4 separate regions of the Homo sapiens genome follow, and all the other regions are linked to region 1. The links are contacts of gene promoters, found by promoter capture Hi-C in blood cells and fetal thymus (Javierre and others, 2016). All regions are on one chromosome and are shown on one strand. The core of a region is centred on a gene start or on the middle of the fragment in contact, and the rest is flanking DNA. Distances in the headings are between cores, read along the strand shown. Region 1 holds the start of NMT1 (N-myristoyltransferase 1). Region 2 overlaps ARHGAP27 (Rho GTPase activating protein 27). Region 3 has its middle 48 kb from the start of ARHGAP27. Region 4 has its middle 5.5 kb from the start of MAP3K14.

Region 1 (3,097 bases), core at 445-2,944:
CACAGTTACCTTTTAGTAACTGATTTCCTTGAGTGAATAGTGTATCAGAAAATGGGACTTTTATGGTGGCAAAGAATTCAGAGGGCCTGGGGCACACAGATCTGGATTTGTATACCGATTTGCCACTTAACCAGCTATGTGACTGTGCAATTTACCAACCTCTCAGGGCCACATTTTTTCATCTGTCAAAAAGGTCAATATGGCCAGGTACGGTGGCTCACACCTCTAATCCCAGCACTTTGGGAGGCCGAAATGGGCAGATCACGAGGTCAGGAGTTCGAGACCAGCCTGACCAACATGGTGAAACCCCGTCTCTACTAAAAATACAAAAATTAGCCAGGTGTGGTGGCGTGCGCCTTTAATCCCAGCTACTCAGGAGGCCGAGGCAAGAGAATCGCTTGAACCCAGGAGGCGAAGGTTGCAGTGAGCCGAGATCGCACCACTGCACTCCAGCCTGGGAGTCAGAGAGAGACTCCGTCTCAAAACAAAACAAAACAAAACAAAGGTTGAATAATAATAATAGGACCTATATTGTAGACTTGTTGAGAGGATTAAATGAGATAATGTACGAAATGCCTTACTACAGAGTCTGGCACTTATTAAAGAAAGAGTTGATGTGGGCTGGGTGCCGTGGCTCACGTCTGTAATCCCAGCACTTTGCGGGGTTGGGGTAGGAAGATCCTTAGAGGCCAGGAGTTCGAGACCAGCCTGGGCAACAAGGCGAGACCCTCGTCTCTACAAAAAATATATAAATTATCCGGGTGTGGTGGCTCATGCCTATAGTCCTAGGTACTTGGGAGGCTGAGGTGGGAGGATACCTTGATTGCAGTGAGCTGTGATCTTGAGCCATTGCGCTCCAGCCTGGGCGACAGAAGGCGGCCGTATTTAAAAAAGAAAAAAGAAAGAAAGAAAGAAAAGAAAAGAAAAAAAGGGTCGTTGTGGAAAATTCTTGTGGGGAATTAAAGGGACCACGTGTGCGCGAAAGAGCTTGGCGAAGATAAGTACCTGGAGGCCAAGATGAGGCGGCGAGCCCTGCCTCCCTAGCAGTGTGGTCTCCTGGCTTAGGGTCAGTGCTTCGCACAAAAAAATCCACTGCCTCTCATGAGACCTTGAACTGCCAATGACCGCAGGTTGCCCAGACTCCCGAGTGAGGAAGGCGGCCAGGAGTCAACTAGGCTTCTTGCGGAAAAGCCCACTCTAAGAAGGCCTGGGGCATTCCGGCTCCAGGCAGGTAGCACCCGCGGGCCTCAGGCCCTTTCACTTACCCGGGAAACGTAACGGTCCTTAACGGCAGCCAATAACGGCTCCCAGCGGCCCAGGCACTGGCAAGGGCAGGCTGAAATCAAACCTCGGATTTTGGAACCTCCACGCCTGAAACCCTAAACCAGCATCGAACTACAACTCCCATCATGCCAGGCGGCCGCCCGGTTCCCAAGGGTCGGTCCCACCAACCTTGCGCCCCTTCTTTCCTCAAAGCGTGGCCGAATGCCTAGGCTTCCGGGTATCAGTGGCCCCGCCTCTTAATCCGACCGGAGCCGTCCCTCGTGATTCCTGGGTATTGTAGTCAGTTTCCTGGGAAAGAGTCGCTCCTAGTGGCAGCTCGCTTCGCCAGAAAAACTACAAAACCCAGAATGCAGCGCAAATTCCCCTTGTCCAATAGGAACCCCCCATGTAGTGGGGCGCGGAGCCCTGCTCTCGCAACTCAAGATGGCGGACGAGAGTGAGACAGCAGTGAAGCCGCCGGCACCTCCGCTGCCGCAGATGATGGAAGGGAACGGGAACGGCCATGAGCACTGCAGCGATTGCGAGAATGAGGAGGACAACAGCTACAACCGGGGGTAACGAAATCCTCGGAGTCCAATTCCCGTCCAGCCTCCCACAACCTGGGTCTCTGGGGTGCGGGGAAGTCACCGGGAGCTTAGTCTAGCCCCACCCTCATGTTCTTATTGGCTAAGTCACTAGGATTCTGCCTGGCGATTGGTTATTGCCTTTGTCATTTACCAAGGGTGGGTGCTCTGGATATTAAGGGCCGGAGACGTTCAGTACTTTTATTATATAAAAGTTCTATGCAGTGTTCCACTCGTGTGCTTCAGGCCATTCCTGGGAAAAGAGCATGTTGGACGATGGTTTTCGATGGTACAACACAGGACAGTCTAGTAACAGTACAGTTCAAAGGGAACGTTACTTATAGACGTGTTGTTTGAACAACGTGACTAGCAATAAACGAATCATAAAACATTTCGCAGCAGTTCACCCTCAGTGAGGAAACTCATCAGACTATACAAACTGTATGTATAATTATATTGTAAAATATCACTACCAGAGAATCCCAAAATATAAACTCACCTTATAAACCTATGTAATTAACGGTATGGTAATGCTTTGATTTACATAGTTTCCATTGCTCCAAATAATCCATAAGTATCCTGAACGATATATTAATATAATTAAGTCTTCGAACATCTTTGCCTTGTTACCTTTGCAGAGCAGCCCCAGGCTTCAAGAAATGAGCGATGTTGTTTCTTGGAGAGTATTTGGAATCCTCGGGCTCCATACTGCCTATCCTGTACTTTAGGGTCTTGCCATTAGTTACTATTTGTTCCTAGGGATGAAGAAACACACCAGGCATTTGAATGTTGAATTCTTTTCCCAAATTAGTTTTTACTTCTGTAAGCCACAGCTTATTCATCTTTCTTCACATGGTTAGTGCCTGGCACTGGCACTCACGCTGTCTCTCCCCATCTTCCTGTCTATATTTGTAGATATATTTTTAAACTGAAAGTCGTGAGAGATTTTTGGGTGTATAACTTGCTGAGTCTGAGGTAGTCTGATTTTCGTAGCCAGCTTGTTATTCGCAGTATTGGTGGCAGTGCAGATATAAAGGTATAAAGACCAAGGACTGCGTAGAAGAGATGGTCCCACAAGATTATAGTACATATTTTTATTGTATCCTTTCTATGTTTAGGTATGCTTAGATACACAAATACTTACCATTGTATTATAGTTGCCTGCAGTACTCAGTAACATGCAGCAGCCTATTGCTCCTAGGCTACAAACCTGTATAGCATGTTACTGTAATGTACACCATATAGCCTAG
Region 2 (3,097 bases), core at 154-2,653, 350 kb after region 1:
GACAGGGTGGGCAGAGGGGGCGCTGAGTGCTGGGGGCCTGGGCTGGCCTGGAGTGGCTCCTGGGGCGGAAACAGGACAATGAGTGGTTGTCCACTCCCTCTAGGCCCAGGGAGGGTGTAATGGGAAAGAGGAAGCTTGTGGGGGGGAGGGGAAGAGTTCCCAAAGAGGAAGGGGTCTGGGCAGATGTGATATCACAGGGAGCTGGCATCTGGACTGTGCCAGCCCCGAGGAGGACAGGAAGGATTCTGACCACATCACTATCTGCCCGCCTGACCACCTGGGTCTGTCTCCTCCAGACTCGGTCACCAAGATGCATATGCCCTCCCACGCCTGCATGCCCACATGTGCCCACTCTCACTTGCGTGTCCACATACGTGTACAAGTATGCCCGTGCCTGTCCCCTCCTCTCTAAGGACCCAGAGAAGAGGGCCAGGCACCAGCTTCTTCCAGGAGGAAGGTTAAATCTTCTTCCTGGCCTCTCTTCCCTTCACCCCCTCGTGTGGGGATGACAGACCCCAGCCACGCACAGTGGACACATGCCCTGAGTAAGAAGTTACAGCCCCTCCTCTGAGCCCATGGGTCCATCTTGTCTTCCCTCCTCCCTTAGAAGTGCTTCCTCCCCAGGCTTAAGGGCCAGGCAGCACTAAGCCCACCAGCCCACCCCTGCTGAAGTCCACCTCCTTTCCTGGTCAGGCTCTGACCCCCACCCTTCCACTCTAGGCCCATTCTTCCTCCTCTGGCCCCCACCCTGGATCTCTTTTTCTCCCCTGCCATGTCTCTCAGCCCCTCTTCTCCTGTACCCACTGTGGGCTGGGGACAAGGACCCCAAGCAGAGCCAGGCACAGTGTGAATGTGGGGCACGAGACACTTGTAGAGATCACACTAGGAGCAAGACTGGGCCCCATGCCCTGCTCTGCCCACAAAAGCTCTCATACCAGTGTCCCATCCCCTGTACCCGACTCAGAAGCCCAGACCCCAGGGGTAGACTAATCCCCTCCTCGCTATCAGGGTGGAGGACAGCAGGAATCACAGAAGGCTGGAGGCCTCATGCTTATCACACACCTGACCCATCTCTCTGTCCCCACCCTGAGGCCAGGGATGAGGACTCACACACACACACACACACACACACTACACACGTGTGCGTGCATATGACAGGTCACCAAGGGTTATGCAACCAGGCCTCAGAGACAGGAATAGCCTCTGTAAATTCCAGAGAGGCCAGAAACTCTGAGCCACCAGGGAGGAGCTGGGTGGAGAGGGGAGAGAAGAGGACAGGTGTGGAACTCAGGCCCTCAGCATTGCCCTGCAGGTAGCATGGGGGGCAGGGACTCCCTATGGCAGAGCCAGGAGTGTCAGTGTCAGGGCTGGGACTGCAGAATGGGCAGCCAGCAACTCACCTGGCATCTCACCTGCTTCTCTTCCCCAGTAGGAAGCTGGGCCCCCATGATGGGGGTCTCCCAGGGGGCTCCAGCCCCAAACTATAGGGAGTGAACAAACTCACACAGTTCCTGCCTGCTCTTGGCCACAGAAGTTGGCTCTCAGGCCCTGTCTCGGATTCCCTCCCCCCAGTGAGAGGAGGTGATGACCACAGTGGCTCCCCAGAGGGGTCCACCTCCCTCCACCACACCCTCATGCCTCTGAGAGGCACAAGGGGGAGGGTCAGGAGAGGTTCTAGAACAAACCAGCTGCACAACACCCCTCCTTTCCCCACTCTGACCTCACTCTTCCCTCCCAAACCCTCATAGGAAGTGCTGGGGCAGGAGCAGGTGCACTAGGAAGACCCAGTCCTCTGGGGCTAGAGGCAAAATGAACGCCTCCAAACCAGGACTTGGCCCAGGAACTGGCTCAGGGGCTGGCGAGGGGACATGGTGTCCTTTGTTGACTCAGTGAGTCTGCTCTGTGCCACCCAAGCCAGGTGGAGGGAGAGCCAGAAGGAATGGTGATCTTTGCCTCAAGGAGCTCAGTCATGTCCACACGACAGGTCCCTCCCCCAAACACATGTTCTCCAGGACAGAAACTGGGTCTCCCTTTAACCATCCCGGCCTGGCCCAGAGCTACATGTCCAGGGGCAGGATCGGAGGAGCTGGGGGTGACCCCACAGGATCCTGGGCCTCAGGCCTCAGTAGGCTTTGGGGAACTGTGCCTAGCTCAGCCCTCTGAGATTCTGATGGAAGTGGTTTGGGCCGGGACCTGGGGAAAGTGTTTAATTTTAAGCCTCCTTGGGTGATTTGACTGTGCCTCCCAGGTGTGGCACCACGGCTCAGTATAATCTTTTTTTTTTTTTTTTTTTTTTTTTTTTTTTTTTTTTAATGGAGTCTCACTCTGTCACCCAGGCTGGGGTGCAGTGGCTCGATCTCAGCTCACTGCAACCTCTGCCTCCCAGGCTCAAGTGATTCTCCTGCCTCAGCTTCCTGAGTAGCTAGGATTACAGGTGCCTGCCACCATGCCCAGCTAATTTTTGTACTTTTAGTAGAGATGGGGTTTCATCGTGTTGGCCAGGCTGGTCTCAAACTCCTCACCTCAAGTGATCCGCCGCCTTGGTCTCCCAAAATGCTGGGATTACAGGCATGAGCAGCCCGGCTGACTCAGTGTAATCTTATTGCATGGATGTGGGGTGAGATTCCAAATGTAACGGTTTCAGGTGAGACCCTTTTCTTGGGCTTGGGGCAGAAGCTTCCATTGATTCAGAGGGAAAAAGAGTGGAGCCGGAGACCAGAGACTTGGACTCTTGTCTAGACTCTACTTCAGCTTCTCGCTGAGCAGCTGCTTGAATTTCTGGGCCTCAGTTTCTTCATGTGTAGAACAGAGCTGTCAACCCTACTCCGTCACAGGGCTGGTTCTATGAAAGAACTGAGCGGGCCTTGGGTTCCCACACCCATGGGGATTGGGGGAAAGCAGGCCTGCACTTCTGCTTTTCTGACTTCGGGTTTCGATTGGGTGCCCTCGGCTCTGGACTCTGTCCCCAGCCTCTGGGTGACCTCATGGGGCTGCTTGCCTGGCCTGCTCCTCCAGGGCGGGGTGGGAGCTGGGGTGGGGCATCCTCAGGGCTCACAACGCTTGTGCTCTAAGTAAGGCTGGCAGACACCCAGCAGGG
Region 3 (3,097 bases), core at 348-2,847, 320 kb after region 1:
TGGCAAACGGGGAGGGTCTAAGCCAGGAGTGAGCCAGGGGCTGGGGTGGCGTGGGGTGGGAAAGATTGGAGGTAGAATCTGGGAAAGCAGTGACTGGTTGATGGGTTGATGTGTTAAGTGACACTGGGATTTCTTTTTTTTTTTTTTTTTTTGAGTTGGAGTCTCACTCTGTCACCCAGGCTGGAGTGCAGTGGCACGATCTCCGCTCACTGCAAGCTCCACCTCCCAGGTTCACACCATTCTCCTGCCTCAACCTCCTGAGTAGCTGGGACTACAGGTGCCCGCCACCACTCCCGGCTAATTTTTTGTATTTTTAGTAGAGACGGGGTTTCATCGTGTTAGCCAGGATGGTCTCGATCTCCTGACCTCATGATCCACCTGCCTCGGCCTCCCAAAGTGCTGGGATTACAGGCGTGAGCCACCGTGCCCAGCCAACACTGGGATTTCTAAACTGGGGGACTGGGAGGAGAGAGGTAGCAAAGACAGGAGAAGGAAATTATGGGGAGAGAGGAGATGACAAAATCAATCTGGGATACATTGAATTGGAAGTGTTTACATGACCTCAGAGGGAGATTCATTCATTCATTCATTCATTCGTTCATTCATTCATTCATATTTACCGAACATGTGCTGGCACCAGGCATGCAGCTGTCCATCAGACAGACAAAATTCCTGCTGTAATGGAGCTTAACGTTTGTGGGAAAGACAGATGGGGGAAGGACAGATAAAGACAAGCAAATAAAGAGGAAGTGGTGGGAGGTATGCCTGGGGCTCAGGGCTCCAGGCTGTGGAATGGATTTGGGGCCTGGCAGCAGAAGGGCAGCAGTTACAGCTGGCTGGATGGGTGAGCTTGCCTAGGGAGGGGGCAGAGTGAGCTGAGCAGAGGAGAGGGCGGCCTGCCAGCATTTACAGGCCACAGGGGAACGAGTGCCCACAAGGAAAACCACCAAGGAGCAATCAGAGGGGCAACCAGTCACAGGAGGAGGCTTCAAAGATATGACAACTGGCACATTCATGCATTTATTCAATCTAACTTCACTTGACCCCTTCTGTGTGCCAAGCTCTGGGTGATCAGAAATGAATGAGAAGCCTCTGGAGGTGACAGGTGTGTTGTGTGCCAGTGACGAGACCAGGCCACATGAAGGAGATTCTATTACGAAGTCCACATGCCCATGCATTGTGGGGGCACAGATGATGGGGGCTCACATTTTTTAAGCCTGATATATGCAAGGCCCTGGGGAAGGCTTCGTGGTGGTGGGGCAGGAGGCAGAGAATGGGGGCGAGGGCGTGGCGGCGAGACCCACATGGCTTGCACGGACAGCAGAGGCATCCCGGGAGGCTGGGCATTGGCGTGAGAGCGGAGAGAGTCAGCCAGAGGACAAGGAGCCGAGGACGGGGCAAAGATCGCACAGGGAGAGTGAGCTGAGCTCTGAAGGGCATGGAGGACCCGTGCGGGTTTTGAGGAGAGTACCTGCTGCTCAGGAATGTTCCACCAAGCAGACAGGAGTCAGAGGCGGCTGAATGCCAAGGCCCCTGGGATACTGGGGACAGAGCACCTCTTCCTGGCTCCTCAGCACTTAGCAGGTGCCAGAGCTCAGTAAGCGCCCACTCTGCGCCCTGCACAAGTGCGGGATCCACGCAGCCCACAGCATGCTGGGTAAGGCACTGAGTGGGGGGCGGTGGGGCATCTGGAAAGGCATCTTGCAGGGAGGCAAGAGCCAGGTATAGAGCGTGGGAGCAAAGAGGGGCTAGCACACGCTCCAGGGTCTGGGGAGACTTCTCTTGGGAGAATCCTTGGTTGCTGAGGATGGGAAGGATGGGTGAGGCAGAGGTGCCAATGCCCGGCCCGGTGGCCTGAGCCCAGATCCGCCCTCTGATGGGGAACCCCAGGCCCACAGGGACCTCCCTCTGCCTGACCCCAGACCTCCTCTTCCTGGTCCAAGCCTCACCTCACCTTCTCCTCGACTACATGTCATCAGCCTCATCCCCCAGCCTCGAAGCTCAGGATTGGCCGGAAACATGGGGGCTGGGGTCAAGAGAGGGCGAAGACTTCAGGATTCTCTTGGCCCCATGCATAGCAGCCCAAAACTCCCTCTAACACTCCCTGCTGTTCCCGCCTCGGAATCGCCCCTTGGGCAAAAGGCCTCTGGCGCCCCCTACTGGCAGTTCAGCTTCAAGACTCCCAAGCCCTCACGCTTCAACCCTGTCTGAAGTGAGGTCCAGCCTGAACACTTCTAGGGCCAATTCCAGGCTGCAGAGAGGTGGTGTGGGGCCTGGGCCAGGACGGAAGTCTTGTGATATTTCCTTGAACACCAGCAGCTTCCTAATTGGTCCCCTCCCTCCCTCCTTCAGCCACAGCTGGGAAAATCTCTTTAAAAGCATATTTGTAGGATACCACTCAGGAGTAACAAGTAATGAACTATTGATACCCAACAATGACTTGAATGGATCCTAAGGGCATTATGCAGAGTGCAAAAAGCCAGCCTTGCAAGGTTGCATACTGTATATTTCCATCCATTAACATTCTCAAAAGAAGCAAATTATAGAGATGGATAAAGACAAGGTTGCCAGGGATTAGGGAAGGAGCGGGAGGATGTCAGTGGAAAGGGAAGCATAAGAAGTTTCTTTTGAGATGATGGAACATTCTGTATCTTGGTTGCTGCAGTGCTGGCTATACATGAATCTATGCATGTGATAAAATGTCATGGAATTATACACAAAGACAAACAAAAATGAGTGCATGCAAAGAATGGTGAAATCAAGCAAGGTCTATAGTTAGTTACATCGCTTTCCTGGTTTTGATAAGGCACAATGGTTACGTAAGACGGCACCACCAGGGGAAGCCAGGTGCTGGCTGCACCAGGCCTGTCTGTACTATTTATGTAACTTCTTGTAAGTCAATAATTCTTTCAAAATAAAAAGTTTATAAAAACGGAAAAGCATCTCTGGCCATATTGTCCACCTGGTCATCACCTAGTGGCACCCACTGGGCCATAAAGGATGAAGTCCATTCTCCCAGCAGGGCACAGAGCCCTTCATGGGCTGGCCCTTTCTTCTGGAATGACATTTGCCATCTCTCTTAATATACCAAGCCCTG
Region 4 (3,097 bases), core at 213-2,712, 260 kb after region 1:
AAGAAAGGAAATTATATTCTGGTTTTTATTGCCTTAGTCAGCATGGTTTATGGTGCTGAGCCATGTCCAGTGAGAAAGTGGCTGATGAGTCATCTGAATGTGGATTTCAGGCCCCAAATTACTGTGAGATTCTGAAGTTACACTTGAGAATTCAGATGTGAGGCTGAGATAAGAGATGACTGGGGACTGTAGGGTGGATGTTCCTGGAGGAGAGCAGTTTTCCTTTCCCTGTCGGGACTGCCTGAAGTTGCAGCCACAGTGCTGTTGCTGCCCTCCCCAGCTTGGACCTGCCCTACTGCTGCTGTTAGCTGAGGTCTATGGAGAGGCCAGGGAGGCAGGAGGGGAAATGGATAAATGGATGCAGGCAAAGTGTGATCCATTCTCTCTAGCTATTTTGTGATCAGTGATCTCATATTGGTAGCTTGAAATTGGACATGTTGGGAGTATTTATACCATGGAAGTTGGCAAACAGTATAAATCAGGGCTACCCATCCTGAGTTGGTTGTTAAACACCTGCTGGCACACCACTGTGTGCTGGTTCTGGCCTGTGCCTGCTGCCCACCAAACCAACCCCACATAGGGAGATGGCAGGGGGCACCACAAACCACAGAGCTGCTGTAGAAGAGGAGGGGCCATGGCGATGTGGGTGAGGGGGAGAGGAGTGCCAATTTCAGCAAAGAATGGAGGTGAGGGCTGGTAGGGGACTCTGGAGGGTACTGGGCAAAGATGACCTTACAAGAACAGGTCCTGGGCACACCTTCCAGAGATCTAGCCTCCTCTCCCAACTTTGGAGCCTTCTTAGGGTGCCCTGGCTTGACACAAATTCTTCTCATTTCCTGATTTGGAGATTTTCCCCTCCAGACTCACCTGCTTACCTCTAGTCTCCTCTCCACACTATCCTCAAGCCTTCTGGTGAATTGAATCTTCCTAAGAGATCGCATAGGTCCTGTCATTCCACTCCCAATGTCCCAGCATCTCCTGCCCTTCGATATCTCCCTCCTTTCGCTTCTTCCTTTCAACCTACAAATGAGGTCAAGCCGAGGACACCCTAAAAACAACAAACAAACAAAACCTTGCTAGTTCTGGCTTTCCCCTGCACTGTTAGCCCAGCCTTCTTTCCCCCTTCACTCCCAAACTTCTTGAAAGTCTGCTTCATCTCCCACCCAAGTGGGCTCCTTACAGCCTGGTTTCTGCTCACCAGCCCTTCTCTCCATGAACTGCCTCCTAGTAGATGACCTTGTCTCAGTTTCTTATCTGCAGCCAGCCACAAATGTGATGCACTGAGCTCCTCTGTGTCAGGCTCTGGGTAGGAAGCATGGAACCTCCAGACCAGTCCCTGCCCTTAGGGAGCTTCCTTGAACAGGTAGCAACAGATGAGGACTTAAGCCACTGCAAGTGTGGCAAGAAGATGGGGAGACTGTATCATGTCAGGTAGGATCCAGCCAGGAAAACAGGACCCATTTTGAGGGTTTTTTTTTTTTTAATTTTGATAGAGGTAGGGGTCTCCCTGTGTTGCCCAGGCTGATCTTGATCTCCTGGCCTCAAACGATTCTCCCGCCTTGGCCTCCCAAAGCACTGGGATTACAGGCATGAGCCTCTAAGCCCAGCCTCATTCTGAATTTTTATTTTTATTTTATTTATTTATTTATTTTTGAGATGAAGTCTCACTCTGTCACCCACGCTGGAGTGCAGTGGCATGATCTTGACTCACTGCAACCTCCACCTCCCGGGTTCAAGCAATTCTCCTGTCTCAGCCTCCTGAGTAGCTGGGATTACAGGCGCCTGCCACCACACTCGGCTAATTCTTTTGTATTTTTAGTAGAGACGGGGTTTCACCATGTTGGCCAGGCTGGTCTTGAACTCTTGACCTCAGGTGATCCACCCGCCTCGGCCTCCCGAAGTGCTGGGATTATAGGTGTGAGCCACCTCGCCTGGCCTCTGAGTTTTTAAACAGAATAAACATAGAATTGAATGCAGGAAATTGGTTACATAGGGGATGAAAGGATGGAGAAGTTCTTCAGACAATGGGGGAAGTAACCAGGAATCCAGCTGCGACCCCTGGGTTGGAGGGACTGGACTGGGGCAGTGTAATCAAAGGCTGGGACTGGGGTCACTTGGAAGAAGTTGAAACCATAGAGAAGACACAACCACTTCCACAGATACCACTAAGACTGAGAGGGATGGGGAGAAATCCCTGCATTCTCCTTCCCTTCTACCTTTGGGTTTCCTGCCAGAGCCTCTTACTGGCCTGGGAGCCTAGAGGGGTCAGTCACTTGCAATGCAGAGCAGAGCAGGTGAGGGCTGGATGGGGGAGCACACAGCCCGGGACCAGCGCAGGGATTCCTTCTACCCTCCACATCTATCGTTACCATGTCCATCTCCCCTGTTGAGGCCAGGCCTCATGACTCATTCATCTCTCTCCGGCACCAGGGCCTAGTCAAGTGCCTGGCACCAAATAGGTGCTCAACTACTGTTTGTTGAATGATTCAATACAGCCAGTAGTGGATGAGGACTCCAAGGGAGAGAGTGTAGAGAAATGAGGGGCTTAGGCCTGAAACTTGGAGGGTCTCAATTGTTAAGAATTGGAGAGGGAGGCCAGGTGCAGTGGCTCATGCCTGTAATCCCAACACTTTGGGAGGCCAAGGCGGGCAGATCACTTGAGGTCAGGAGTTTGGGATCAGCCTGGCCAACATGGAGAAACCCCGTCTCTACTAAAAATACAAAAATTAGCCAGGCGTGGTGGCTGACGTGTGTAATCCCAGCTACTCAGGAGGCTGAGGCAGGAGAATCGCTTGACCTGGGAGGTGGAGGTTGAGGCTGCAGAGGTTGGGAGCCGCAGGAGAAGAGAGGATTCTGGAAGAAGAAGAGGAGCGCCAGCTTTGGACATAGTGTATCTGGGCTGCCCTGGCTCTCTCAATTGTCCTCTCTTTGCTGTTGACTGCCAGATTAACACCTTCAGTTCTGACCGTGATCCTGGGCTCCAAACCAGAGTTTCCAGGGGCCCATAGAGTATTTCCACCTTCTAGCCATCTGGCATCTCCAGCTTTGCACTGTTCCCCAAACCTGTTCCTTGGCCACCCCTCTCTGTTAATGACCT

Evidence for each region. The method cuts DNA at HindIII sites, captures the fragments that hold promoters and counts their contacts. A CHiCAGO score of 5 or more calls a contact.
Region 2: a contact is called between a fragment that was not itself captured here and the fragment with the promoter of NMT1 in region 1, in 1 of 17 cell types (neutrophils). The highest score is 6.1, in neutrophils.
Region 3: a contact is called between a fragment that was not itself captured here and the fragment with the promoter of NMT1 in region 1, in 1 of 17 cell types (neutrophils). The highest score is 5.8, in neutrophils.
Region 4: a contact is called between a fragment that was not itself captured here and the fragment with the promoter of NMT1 in region 1, in 1 of 17 cell types (neutrophils). The highest score is 6.2, in neutrophils.

Annotation. Positions count from the first base shown.
Region 1 is chr17:45,059,623-45,062,719 of GRCh38, forward strand. It overlaps NMT1 (N-myristoyltransferase 1), which reads left to right and starts at 1,695. Exons shown (of 12, transcript NM_021079.5): 1 at 1,695-1,838. The coding sequence starts at 1,708. It also overlaps a transcript of DCAKD not described here. RefSeq lists enhancers at 475-1,466, 1,326-1,505, 1,467-2,458, 1,606-1,965, 1,819-2,113 and 1 more. The HindIII fragment of the contact is 9,198 bases long and covers 1-3,097 here.
Region 2 is chr17:45,410,689-45,413,785 of GRCh38, forward strand. The region is part of intron 4 of ARHGAP27 (Rho GTPase activating protein 27); the gene reads right to left. Among named protein-coding and RNA genes, the nearest start is that of ARHGAP27, 21 kb to the right of the region's middle. RefSeq lists an enhancer at 938-1,438 and a silencer at 1,281-1,468. The HindIII fragment of the contact is 2,542 bases long and covers 133-2,674 here.
Region 3 is chr17:45,383,558-45,386,654 of GRCh38, forward strand. No RefSeq gene overlaps it. Among named protein-coding and RNA genes, the nearest start is that of ARHGAP27, 48 kb to the right of the region's middle. RefSeq lists an enhancer at 1,322-2,289. The HindIII fragment of the contact is 6,215 bases long and covers 1-3,097 here.
Region 4 is chr17:45,321,000-45,324,096 of GRCh38, forward strand. No RefSeq gene overlaps it. Among named protein-coding and RNA genes, the nearest start is that of MAP3K14, 5.5 kb to the left of the region's middle. The HindIII fragment of the contact is 3,763 bases long and covers 1-3,097 here.